Regions from separate parts of the Homo sapiens genome. Here all the other regions are linked to region 3. The links are contacts of gene promoters, found by promoter capture Hi-C in human tissues and cell types (Jung and others, 2019). All regions are on one chromosome and are shown on one strand. Each heading gives the region's core, a stretch centred on a gene start or on the middle of the fragment in contact. The rest is flanking DNA. Distances are from core to core; before and after follow the strand shown. Region 1 overlaps SIPA1L2 (signal induced proliferation associated 1 like 2). Region 2 has its middle 39 kb from the start of SIPA1L2. Region 3 holds the start of NTPCR (nucleoside-triphosphatase, cancer-related).

Region 1 (3,638 bases), core at 173-2,672, 360 kb after region 3:
TTTCCTTGAGGGAACTGCCACCTAAATGTTTCTTTCAGATAGTGCTTCTCAATTATTTTAGTCTCATGCCTTTTTTTTACACTCTGGAAAATAATTGAGGACTCCAAAGAGTTTTTGTTTATGTGAGTTCTATCAATCACATAATCTACCATATCAGAAATAAAAAAGGGATTTTAGAAATCATTATTGAATTTAAAATAACAATATAACCACCTGTATGTTAACATAAATAATACTTTCGTGAAAAATAACTATTTTCCAAAACTAAGACACTTATTGAGAAGTATGCTTCGTTATTTTTTGCGAATATCTTTAATATCTGGCTTATTAGAAGACAGCTGTTTTCTTGCCTTGCATCTGCATTCAATCTGTTGTGATATGTAGCTGTGGTTGCCATCCAACCAAAGAAAACCTAGCCTCACACAGGTTTGTAGTTGGAAAAGGGAGTGCTTGAATTTCCTTTCAGATAATAGTGGATCTTCTTTGATATAACACTAGAGAAGTGGTATCTCAAAGTTTGGTCGAGATGTATGTAGATCCTGAAACCCTATCTATGAACTTTAAAAACTCTGTTTTAGGTATTATTTTGAATATCATGCATTGGCCACTTAGAAAAATCTCCCAAATGTTTATATATTTCACTTGTAATATCAAAAATTCTTGTCATGAATCAGAAAATTCTTAAGTGTAGGGAAATTGTCAAGATCACAGTGGTTATTCAAGTTTTAAGAAAGTCTAAAATTTTCATAAAAGCTTAATCTTACTGTTTTCCTCGAAAATGGGCCTGTTTTGTTTCTTTTCTTTAAAATGCCTGCCAGATAGCCTTGTCGGAATAACCATTGTTTATATATCGCTCTGTCAAGTACAAGGTTGGGTTCAATGAAGAAAAGTGGCTCATCACCTCATAGGTCCACCCCACAGGTGCTGACCCTTGCGACAGCCACCAGTATATGCTGCAACAGGGCTTTCCCTTCCTTCACACAGAGTCATAGTGTGTGTGTGCTCAAGAGTCAAGGCGTAATAAAATCAGTTTTTTACTTCTCCATTGTATTAGTCCGTTTTCCTGCTGCTGATAAAGACATACCCGAGACTGGGCAGTTTACAAAAGAAAGAGGTTTAATGGACCCACAGTACCACATGGCTGGGGAGGCCTCACAATCATGGTGGAAGGTGAAAGGCACGTCTCACATGGCGGCAGATAAGAGAAGAGTGAGAGCCAAGTGGAAGGGATTTCCCCTTCTAAAACCATCAGATCTTGTGAGACTTATTCACTGCCACAAGAACAGTATGGGGGAAACCGCCACCATGGTTTAGTTATCTCGCACTGGGTCCCTCCCACAACACGAGGGAATTATGGGAGCTACAGTTCGAGATGAGATTTGGGTGGGGACACAGCCAAATCATATCATCCATCAAGGACAATAAGTGAGGTGACTGATCTCTTCATTTATTTTAACTGCAGTTATGTGGTAAGATGACAGCTAGTAAGTACAGTGTGGGGCCACTGCCTTGCTGTGTAGTAAGGTACACACATTTTTACATGCTGTTGCTCTTGTACTGTTGATGCTGTACAAAAAGGCAAATAACAGCTTTAGAATTCTAGTTTGACCTCACAGATCCAGTTGAAGAGCCTTGGGGATCCTAAGGGGCCCGTGGTTCATACTTTTTGAGAACCACGACTTTAAGACATACAGGAAAGGTGCTAAATGAGACAGAACTAGACTTGACTCGTTATGAACTTAGTATTACAGAAATGGGTCAGATACCTCATACGTGTGGTGATAGACGTGTGGGGCCATGTGGGAGGGATGTGTAAGAGAGTTCCTGGAGTGTGGCACTTTGACTGGGGCTGTTGACTCCTGTGTCCTGAACATCTAAATCTGTACCTGGTGTATCAGTTCATACTTTATGTAGCAGTTTGAATAATTAGGGCAAGTGTAATGGCTGCATAAATTCATTAGTTTTTAAAAAGTCAAATGGGTTTTGTGTTCATAATAAAGATTAGTCAAGGTAATCTTTTTGTAGTATAAAAGTAATAAAGTTGTGAAATATAGCTGCACAGCCCCTCCCATCCCACCTTCCTGTGATACCGTCATCCTCAGTCTCCCTACCCTTGTATGTCTGTTTCCTATTACCATCAAGGCCCATGACACCAGCTGTGTAGACATACTCCAAAAATAATAGACGCAGTCTTTATCATTATTCACTTAAAAAGCCAACCAGTGTTCTTTCCCCTGATTGGGAATGTGCCCAGTATGAAGGGACAGCATCACATTGGTTATGTAATTGATGCTGTTTGTGACAAAGACTCCTGTTTCACTCCTGTTTTCCCAGCAGTTTCGCATTGTAACTAGGTAGTGATGATGTTTGCTTGTTTTCTGTGTATGAAGAATCACAAGTGTGTTTTTCTTGGGTGGCTCTAGAAGAGAAAGCTTTCATGCCTAGAAGAATATCTTGTTATTTCTATAGAAGCTTTTTAAAAATTCTTCATTAAAAGAAATTTTAAGTCATTTAGAGTAGCTGTTTTTGTGTGAGTTGATATTTTGACCCATTTTATTTTTCTCTTCAGTTTTCTGATTTGTGTGATTACGTGACGAGCTCTTCCTGTGAATCTCGAACACTCAGGTTGGAGTCGTTCGGTCTTTGGAGCCTTTTGGGAGGAAGCCAGGTGCTCTTCAATTGCCCTTTGCAGTAGGACTCCCTGGTAATAACTGTGGCGATGATGAACTTGTCTAGATAAAATGACATCTGATAAAATATTAATAAATACATTGTAGTGGACACCTGCTTCTGAGGATGTGGATGTGTGAAACCTAGACATTCAATTTATGAATGTCTTTTTAATTGACTCCTCTGGACACAGAGAGAGGACCCACATGATCACTGAGAAAATATCAGAGTACAGGTGGCAGAACTGTGGCAGAATCCCCTGTGCAAACTGTATCGCTGTGCGGAGACAGAGCTAACAAACAGGGTCTCAAGGAGAAACCGAGTCTTGTGCTTTGCTTTCATGAGGGATTTTTCTGAGTTAGCTGATGAAGCCAAGCTAAGTAAATATTATCTTCTTTTTGTGTTGGCCTTTTGTTTTGAAATATTCCAACTCTATTTCCTTCATAGTTTTCTCTTTATTGCTGTTATTATTTTTACAGATTAGAGGTACCACCTTTTCCAGTCTTGCTCATCATGGTTTTTCCTACTTCAAGCTGTGAACTATTTAATTCAGTTCAGCAAGCATTTTTGGAGTGTTTGCAAGTCAGTAGCTGTGTTATTACCAAACCTGCCATCTTGACTTTCTGCTGTTGCTATAAGCCCTTTGATTTGCATGTTCAGTATCAGCACTCTTAGCAGCTTCTTCTCTGTGTTTGCCTCCCTTGGTAGGTTTTTAGATTAAGGGAACCTTGTTATGGAGAATGAGGCTTCCAGGATTGGCCTTCTTCCTCCTTTGTTCTCTTTGTATGGTTTCATTGTTCTACTTTACCCTTTTACATGTGCACAGAGCTTCCAGTATCAAGCTGTTCCTTGGAGTAGGAAGTAGTTTTGGAGATGAGAAACACAGAGAGAGGAGGAGAGAGAATATTAGAGAAGAAAATTATTCTCTTTGGATCAGTTTCCATTAGGCATTAACCATTGGCCTGTCC
Region 2 (3,954 bases), core at 81-2,580, 280 kb after region 3:
CCCACCCCCACTACCCTTCCCAGTCTCTGGTAACCATCACAGTCGTTTTTGGTTCCATGGCATATTTTGCAGCTAATCCATGCTGATGGATTCACAAGGAGGCCATTTTGCTCAACAGACATTTCACAGATGCAATTTAAAGATTTTCCCATAGCCCTGGTGGGGACAGATTAGTACAACTTATTTTGAACCTTTTCCAAGCCAACGTCATCTGAGCCTTGCTTTACACTGTAGCACCTGAGGGACACAATCAAGCTCTTATTCATTTGCTGAAGCGGACCCAGGACTGCTTCCTGAGGAAAATTGTGACTTTACCTGAAGAAAAAAGAGTAAAGACATTTGGGGTAGAAAATCAGAAGCCCAGAATAAATAAAACCCTGTGTACCAGGGTCGACAAGAAGTTAGACTTTTTTGGATATGTTTCTCGGAGGAAAAGGTTCTTATTCCATACCAGGTGTAGCACCTAGGAAGTTAATCAGTCACAGGTGATAATGGAATTCTTAGTTGTAGACGAGACCACCTGGGGCTGGACAGGCTACATAATTTGTGAAGTCCAGTGAACAATGAAAAGGCCTGGAGTCCTTGTCCAAAAATTAGACATTTCAAAATGGGAAAGCAGAACATCAGTTTAAGGCTGGGGACCTTCAAAACATGGGGCCTTTGCAATTGTGCTGATTTCATGCCAATGAAACAGGGCATGACTGCAGGGAGGAAATGGAATGAAAACAAGAGTTAATTATGGAATTCTAGGAAAAAACTAACCTTTATAGGAAGGTAAGAGAGAAACCAGCAAAGATGGTGAGATAGGGAAGTCTGGGAGGTAGAAAAAAAAATCAAGAGTGAGTGGTCTCTCAGAAGCCAAGGGAAGTCATACTTTTAAAGGGAAACCACATGGACGTTCCTATGTATCCTTGCACTTCCCGTACACGGGCAGAAAATACGCATCTAATTGCTGCAGGATGAGGTCACCTGTCTCATGTTACTAAAGGCCAGCTAATGTAAGTACTCAAGAATATCCTTGCCTTTCATAGCTAGGAGGTCATCACTGAGCTGATTGAAAAAAGTCTCAATAATAAAAGAGCAACAGCCAGATGTCAGATTGTGTTGTGCTGAGAATGGACAGGGCATTGAGATAGTGGAGACAGCACCAAAGACCTACCCGCTGAGCTTGAGGAGAAAGGATTGAAAAGAGGGGAGTACCCGGCGGCAGATGTTAAGCTGCGAGAGTTGTTACTGTTATTGATGATGGTATTTTGTTCTTTTTTGATTGCTTTTAAGCGGGGGAAGACTAAAGCATGTTCGTATGCAGAAAAAAAAAATTCAATAGTAGAAAGTGAAAAGGCAGAAAAAGAGAGGAGAAAGGAAAGAGGAGAGAAAAGGGAAACGGATAAAAGATTGGAAGAAATAATTCCTGAGTAGTTGAAAAGCACAGAATCCAGGTGGTAAGTCTATAAAAACAGCACAGTTAAGGCATTGGGTGAGCTGAATGTTAAATATATTGGTAACTTGCAAGTATTCCTGAGCTTTACAAAAGACGTTATATCAATCAGAAAGTAGTAACAAGAATAATAAAGACTCAATGTGAAATCTTGGCAGGGTAGCCCTCAGGTTGGGGTTTTTATTTTGTGGGTGTGTATACCAGCCTGCGGTGGATGACCTGCCATTTGGACTAAGCCATTCATTTTGAAAGAAAGGGAGAGTATATATTCAAATGTGAGGGAAAAAGTAGGAATGAAATGAATGATGAATATAGGCACATTTTTTATGAATATGGTTACATTTGGGGGCAAGAGACTTGGAGGTAGGAACTGAAGTATTCCATGCTTTCATTCTTCCCTTATTTCCTATATGAAGTAGGAAACAAGGTCATTTGCTGAGGATAAATACTGAAATACCTAGTAATAAAAAAACTTACTTTGATTCATATAGTTCCTTTTTTTCTACACACTTCAAATTTCTTTAGCAACTGCTACTCTCGAACAACCTATTCTGGTATTTTGATAGACCGTTTCATTGTATTAATTTCTGTTCCCACTAATATCAAAGAGAAACTTGAAACATTTCTACAAAGACTTAACTAATATCAGAAATAGGTTTTCTCTCTATAGCATTTTATAGGGCAATCATTTCAGAACACATAGAACTCAGAATTAGACCATGATGTCTGGAAATGTAAGACTATTAGAGCAAGCCCCTCACAGCACTGGTTTCCCTGGGAAAGAATATTGTTCAAAATATAGCTCTGGATGGGAATTCTTCTGTTAATTTTACTTCCATATTATAGTCAATTCCATTTCTTTTCTGAAGAAGGGTCATATCTTAGTCCAAAGAGCAGCTTATCCAGCATGGTTTAAGATTCACAACAACCAAGTAAAGCTCCCCACCTAAAAGGGATATAAAATCCTTCAATATAAAATCCTGCCAGGATTTTATATTGAATCTTTATTATTCTCATTGCTATTGTCTCATTGATGTAACCTCCTTCATAAAGCTCAGAAATATTTGCAAGTTAATAACATATTTAATATTCATCCATTCAGTTCTCCTCGTGCCTTCCTGGTGCTATTTTATAGACTGAATCTCCTTTTAACTTCTATATAGTTTACTTAATTATTATTCTTATTATCCATTTCCCCAAATAGAATGTAAACTCTGTGTCCCCAACACCTAGAACCATTTCCATCTATAATAGGCCATTCATTGAATATTTGTTGGAAGAATAAATGAAAATACATGTTGAATATTTTCTATTTCAGTGTATCACATTAACTCACATATAGTTGTGCAGAATAATTTTCCATTCTGTTCCTATTTCTCTGGGCTTAAATTGGTGATAGCAGATAGTCTTTAAAAAAACATTAACAACAACAAAAAACTTTTTTTGTTTAGGTCTAGGCCAAGAGGTAGTTACACCCAGCTGATTTGCCCATCTCCGAATCACAAATGAAGGATGGAGTAAATCTACCTAAACAGAGAATCTAGAAGAGCTACAAGCGGGCAGTTTCATATGGTTTGACTTGAAAAAGTGCTATGTGTTTTACATTTTATTAAGTCATTTATTTCACAAAATAGCTTTAGGATATAATAATTATTGTTCCCATCTTACAGAGGTAGAAACTGAAGTTCTAAGAGGTTACATTGACCCAGTTAGAAAGCTAAAAAGTACAAAGTTTGAATTTGAGCACAAATCTTATTCTCAAACCTGAGCTCTTTTCAAAACTGTTTGAGAATTATTCGATGAAGTGTATTGTACTGAGAAAGAAATAAATAGAACAAAGCAAGATGTATTTCACATTTACAAAAAAAAAAAGGAAGGGAAAAGAACTTATGCCTGCAGTTTTCATCAGTAATTCCAACATGGAAAACAAATCTATTTCCAATTTGGCAAAGCCCTCTCAGTGAACTGATATCTTGGCTTGGATATGAGAAGCCATGTAAATATAATTCAAAAATTATGAGCCATTGAGAAATAATTTCTAGATACAAAAAAAGTCTGAGGCAACCATCCATTTCTCCACACTACGACAACGAAGGTCGCTTCTCTTTGTTCAGGGCCAAGTTCCAAAATTTATTATCCCTTTAATTCCACCTCCTCAATCGTGATTCACATAGCTTCATCTCCTGCAGACTCTGAGGAGGTGCAGGGTATGAGTGGGTAGCTACATCATAAGTCCAGCTCACTCTCCTACCCCTTGTTTCCTTTTTCTCTTTTCTTTTTTGGCTTTTATTTATAAACCACCAAAACATCTGGCCAATTTACTTAAACTCCAGATGTTGTAGCCCACTTCACATTGCTACATTTTTTTAACCGAATGTATTAGCTTTATGGTAAATATAGCCTGAGTGAAAGTGAGTGAAGGTTGTCAGCTGATGGAAAATGAAACTAACTGGTAATCAACAATCAACATCTGCTCCTCATTTTTCTATTGCTTCCTGGCTCAATCAAAAATAATG
Region 3 (3,724 bases), core at 498-2,997:
TGCGCTTGTAGATCCAGCTATTCAGGAGGTTGAAGTGGGAGGATCACTTAAGCCCAGGAGTTTGAGAATGCAGTGAGCTATAACTGTTTCACTGCACTCCAGCCTGGGTGACAAAGCAAGATCCTGTCTCTAAAATAAATAAATAAATGGAAAAGAAATCATAGATTACTATGTGGCTCTGTTGTGATTGTCTTTACATGGCCATAATACTGTAAACATTGACTAATGAAAATTACGCTGTAACTACATTAAGAAGAGAAGGAGAAAAGACAAAGGTGCGTGGGTTTGAGGACAGGTTTAAGAGAGCTACACTGTAGAATTATTTGAGTCTTTCAACTACGTGTAGGTAAGACTTTGATAAAGCAGAAACAAGAACCACCATCAATACAATCACGGTAACAGGACACCTCCATTAATAAAACACACAGTTGTCTTGGGGTCAGCCTGCTGAGTATCAAACTGCATTCCAAGTTTCAAATAAAGGATTGACAAACCAACTTTCAGAAAACAGTTCTTTGCAATACTTAGGAGTGACTTTAGATAGCAGGCATTTCTCAAACCACCCTCCTCCTCCTCACCCCCTGCTCCCCAACTCCCCCATCCAATGCCTGACAAAATCCCAAAGTCTGCAATATTAGCTGTAGCCTTTGCTACTTACAACTAAACATAATCATTAAAATAAAGTGAAAGAGAATTCTAGATCCAGGGTTACAGCCTTTGATATCTGAACCCACACTAAACTTCAAAATTAGATTTGCCTTGCAAAGGAGCTGAAGAAATCACTTTCTCCACTCTTAGCCCATCTATCTTTTTTTAGCCTATCTGATGCAGCCTACCTGTCCTTTTTAGTAATGCTTGATACATGGGTAGCGCCTTGGTTTAAAAGCACCTCCTCCTACACCTCTCATCTGACCTCAACGCTATCCTGCTTCTCAGATGAGAACTCCACAGGCCACAGGGTTGAGGGATCTGACAGACATCAGGAGGGGACAGCGACAGGAACAAGCAAGAGTGTCTGAGAAGGGCTCCTGTAGGTACCAAAGCTTCTCCACCTCTGGCCTCAGCTGTGGAGGGAATTCGTGGGGATGGAGATGGGGATGGGGGTGGGGGGATGAACTTAGATGGGAAAGAAAGGTTACAACTTCAGTTTCGCTGTCCTCCAACTAAAATTTACCATTTTTTTTTTGCACGATCAATGTAGCAAAGACCCACAGTAAGGAAATACCTGTGACTATCAACAGAAATTAGACATCTCCACTTCACATCGCGGTTGCCGCAGATCTCTTGAAATACCATTTGTGCAGACCACAACGTCAACACTACAGTAGGAGTTACCGCTGCCGCTGGCCCCTGCGGTTTCTGCCCTTCATCAAGAAGCCAGTCTAGGACCCCCTCACAAGTGTGTTCTAATCCTTTAGGCCCTGTGTCTTTTAAATCACGTTTTCCGGGAAGGAGTACAAACTCTTCAGACTACCAAGCCCGCCATTTAAATTGGGAACTTCAGAGGCCGGAGCCCTGGAGCCGGAGACCCTCCCCGACAGCACAAGGTCGCCCGCAGCCCGCGCGCCCCCACCCCCTCGACCTCTTGGAGGTGGGGATCCCCTCAGGGTTACCTGGGGGCCCCGTTAGGAACACGTGCCGGGCCATACTGGTGGGCGGGGGTAGGGGTTGCGGTCAGGGGAGCAGTCCAGGTTGGGGTCGCAATTCAGGTCAGGTCCGGACCAGGGTCGCGACTCAGGACCCGCCCACCGCGTGTCGCAGGCCCCGCCCCCAAGCGGTGCTTTGACCGGAAGCACCGCCCTCAAGACCACGCATGCGCCTTCTCCCGAGTCCCCGGTCCGCGCCTGCGCATTCAGCCCTCGGCATTGGCGCCTGTGCCGCGGCAGTTCCTATAGGCGGAGCGGGTTGTACGGTCTCTTAAGTTTCATTCTGGGTTCAGGGCTTTTGTGGGGTATTTGCAGAGATAAGTGCGTGAGAACGTCAGTTATTAAACTATTGCTGCTTCAAGTCAGCGCCATCACCCAAGTTCTGCCCCTTGACTCCGGACCTAGGAGCTGAAATTGCCCAAGGCTGCCGGGACAGCCCTTTTGTAGAAGGTTTGTGACCTGGAAGCATTCCTCAAAGGGGGATGCCATGTTAATGACTCCAACTTTGTTCTCAAACATTCCTGCAGAATAGAATCAGCTGGGGAGTTTTAAACTTGCTCTGATGCCTGGGTTTCACCTGCAGTAATAGGGAGTGTCAGAAGACAAAATTACAAGTTTAGTTTAAAGATCTAATTGGCTTATATTTAGGATCTAGAATCGAGAAATAGATCATTTCATAAAGCAAATAGAGTGTTCCAATGAGTTGTGCAGAGGAGGTTGGCTTTATGGGCAAAAAAAGGCTGAAGAACAAAACAAAGAGTGGGTATTTCAAAGTTACTTTCCTTATAGGGTTAAAACAGATTGGACTTCGTTATTGTACTGACTCAGGTTAACTACAATCTCCTGTTTTTTGGGAAAACGGGCCTGTTTCAAAGTTCAGTTTGGTTACATGGCACTTGGCACAAGTGACTCCATTCTGGTTTGGTCTAGTCTGCTAGGACCTAGTGCAGGAGGTTAGTCCAAAACAATGGCCTCCCATAAATCTTGTTTAACATGAGTAATTGGTCTTGAGCGAGTCTTGAGCACCTGTATTCTTTTTTCTTCTTTCTAAACTCCAGGAAGTTCCTGAAGTGCGCTAGGGTTGAGAACCACTGGTGTAGGCAGGCTTCCCGTCCTCAGCCATGCATAGGACGCCCAGTTTTCCCTCTTTACTTTCACACCAAAGTGTATAAAGATCTCCTCTTGCAAAGAATTAAATAGCTTCTCCGTCTCACTTTACCACTGCAAGTGTTCCGGCCAACGAATGACGTGGCAGTGGCCTTGGGCCACATTTACCTGTAAACTCTTTCAGTCTAACATGTGTACAGCTTAATTTGTAGTCAGTCGTTCCCCATCCTGGCTGAGAAAGCAGTTCAGTGAGTGCTCAACTTAATTGGTTTCTGCCCACACATGGACCTCTTGGTTTCCCTTTAGCCTGAGACATATGCCAGTCCAATGATTATCTAAAAAAACAAAGTTGGATTTGTAAAATATAGCTGTCATCACCATCATTTCTGCAACATTTGTAATGCTCTATTATTATAACAGTATACTATTTATTATCCCAACTGTTAATGTAGGGCCTTCCACCTTGATTTATTTTGCAGTCCATATATGTTGAATACAGTGAAAAGTTGATATAGTAAAGTAAATTCATAGGAGGAGCTTCCAAAAAAAAGGAAAAAAGTATATGTATCTCTTGTATCAAAAGTACTCGTTTTAAATGTTAATCAGATAGCATTTTCCATCACTGAAAAGCAGTTTGGATTTGCAAGGCTCACCGGAAGTTGGGTTCTTTTGTTTTGTTGCTGTGCCTGGAATTCTGGCATCAGTTTAAGTAGCTCAAAGATACATGGAATTCAGATATGGTGAATCAACGTCTCACAAAACAGAAAAAAAGACTCCATAGTTGAATGTACTTTATCCATGGAAAATGAATTATTTGGATGGTAGTTCCACGGATATCTTCTTGTTAGAAAATTCATTGATTTGATGCTTAATTTCTACAGTTTCCTGTATGTGTTATTAGGTAACAATAACAAAAAATTAAATAGCTTATATCTCTTAGAGATTAACAACAAAAGAAGATGGCATAAATT

The links. The method cuts DNA at HindIII sites, captures the fragments that hold promoters and counts their contacts. A contact is called where the count stands out against the background at its distance.
Region 1: a contact is called between a fragment that was not itself captured here and the fragment with the promoter of NTPCR in region 3, in 1 of the 25 tissues and cell types used here (H1 embryonic stem cells).
Region 2: a fragment that was not itself captured here is called in contact with the fragment with the promoter of NTPCR in region 3 in 1 of the 25 tissues and cell types used here (small bowel).

The regions. Positions count from the first base shown.
Region 1 is chr1:232,585,467-232,589,104 of GRCh38, reverse strand. All of the region lies in intron 1 of SIPA1L2 (signal induced proliferation associated 1 like 2), which reads left to right. Among named protein-coding and RNA genes, the nearest start is that of SIPA1L2, 43 kb to the left of the region's middle. The HindIII fragment of the contact is 5,763 bases long and covers 1-3,638 here.
Region 2 is chr1:232,667,552-232,671,505 of GRCh38, reverse strand. No RefSeq gene overlaps it. Among named protein-coding and RNA genes, the nearest start is that of SIPA1L2, 39 kb to the right of the region's middle. The HindIII fragment of the contact is 7,975 bases long and covers 1-3,954 here.
Region 3 is chr1:232,948,634-232,952,357 of GRCh38, reverse strand. It overlaps NTPCR (nucleoside-triphosphatase, cancer-related), which reads right to left and starts at 1,747. Exons shown (of 5, transcript NM_032324.3): 1 at 1,614-1,747. The coding sequence starts at 1,647. LOC107985361 (a long non-coding RNA gene) reads left to right here and starts at 809. Exons shown (of 2, transcript XR_001738525.2): 1 at 809-1,030; 2 at 1,202-3,724. RefSeq lists enhancers at 932-1,471, 1,472-2,013, 1,926-2,025. The HindIII fragment of the contact is 11,474 bases long and covers 1-3,724 here.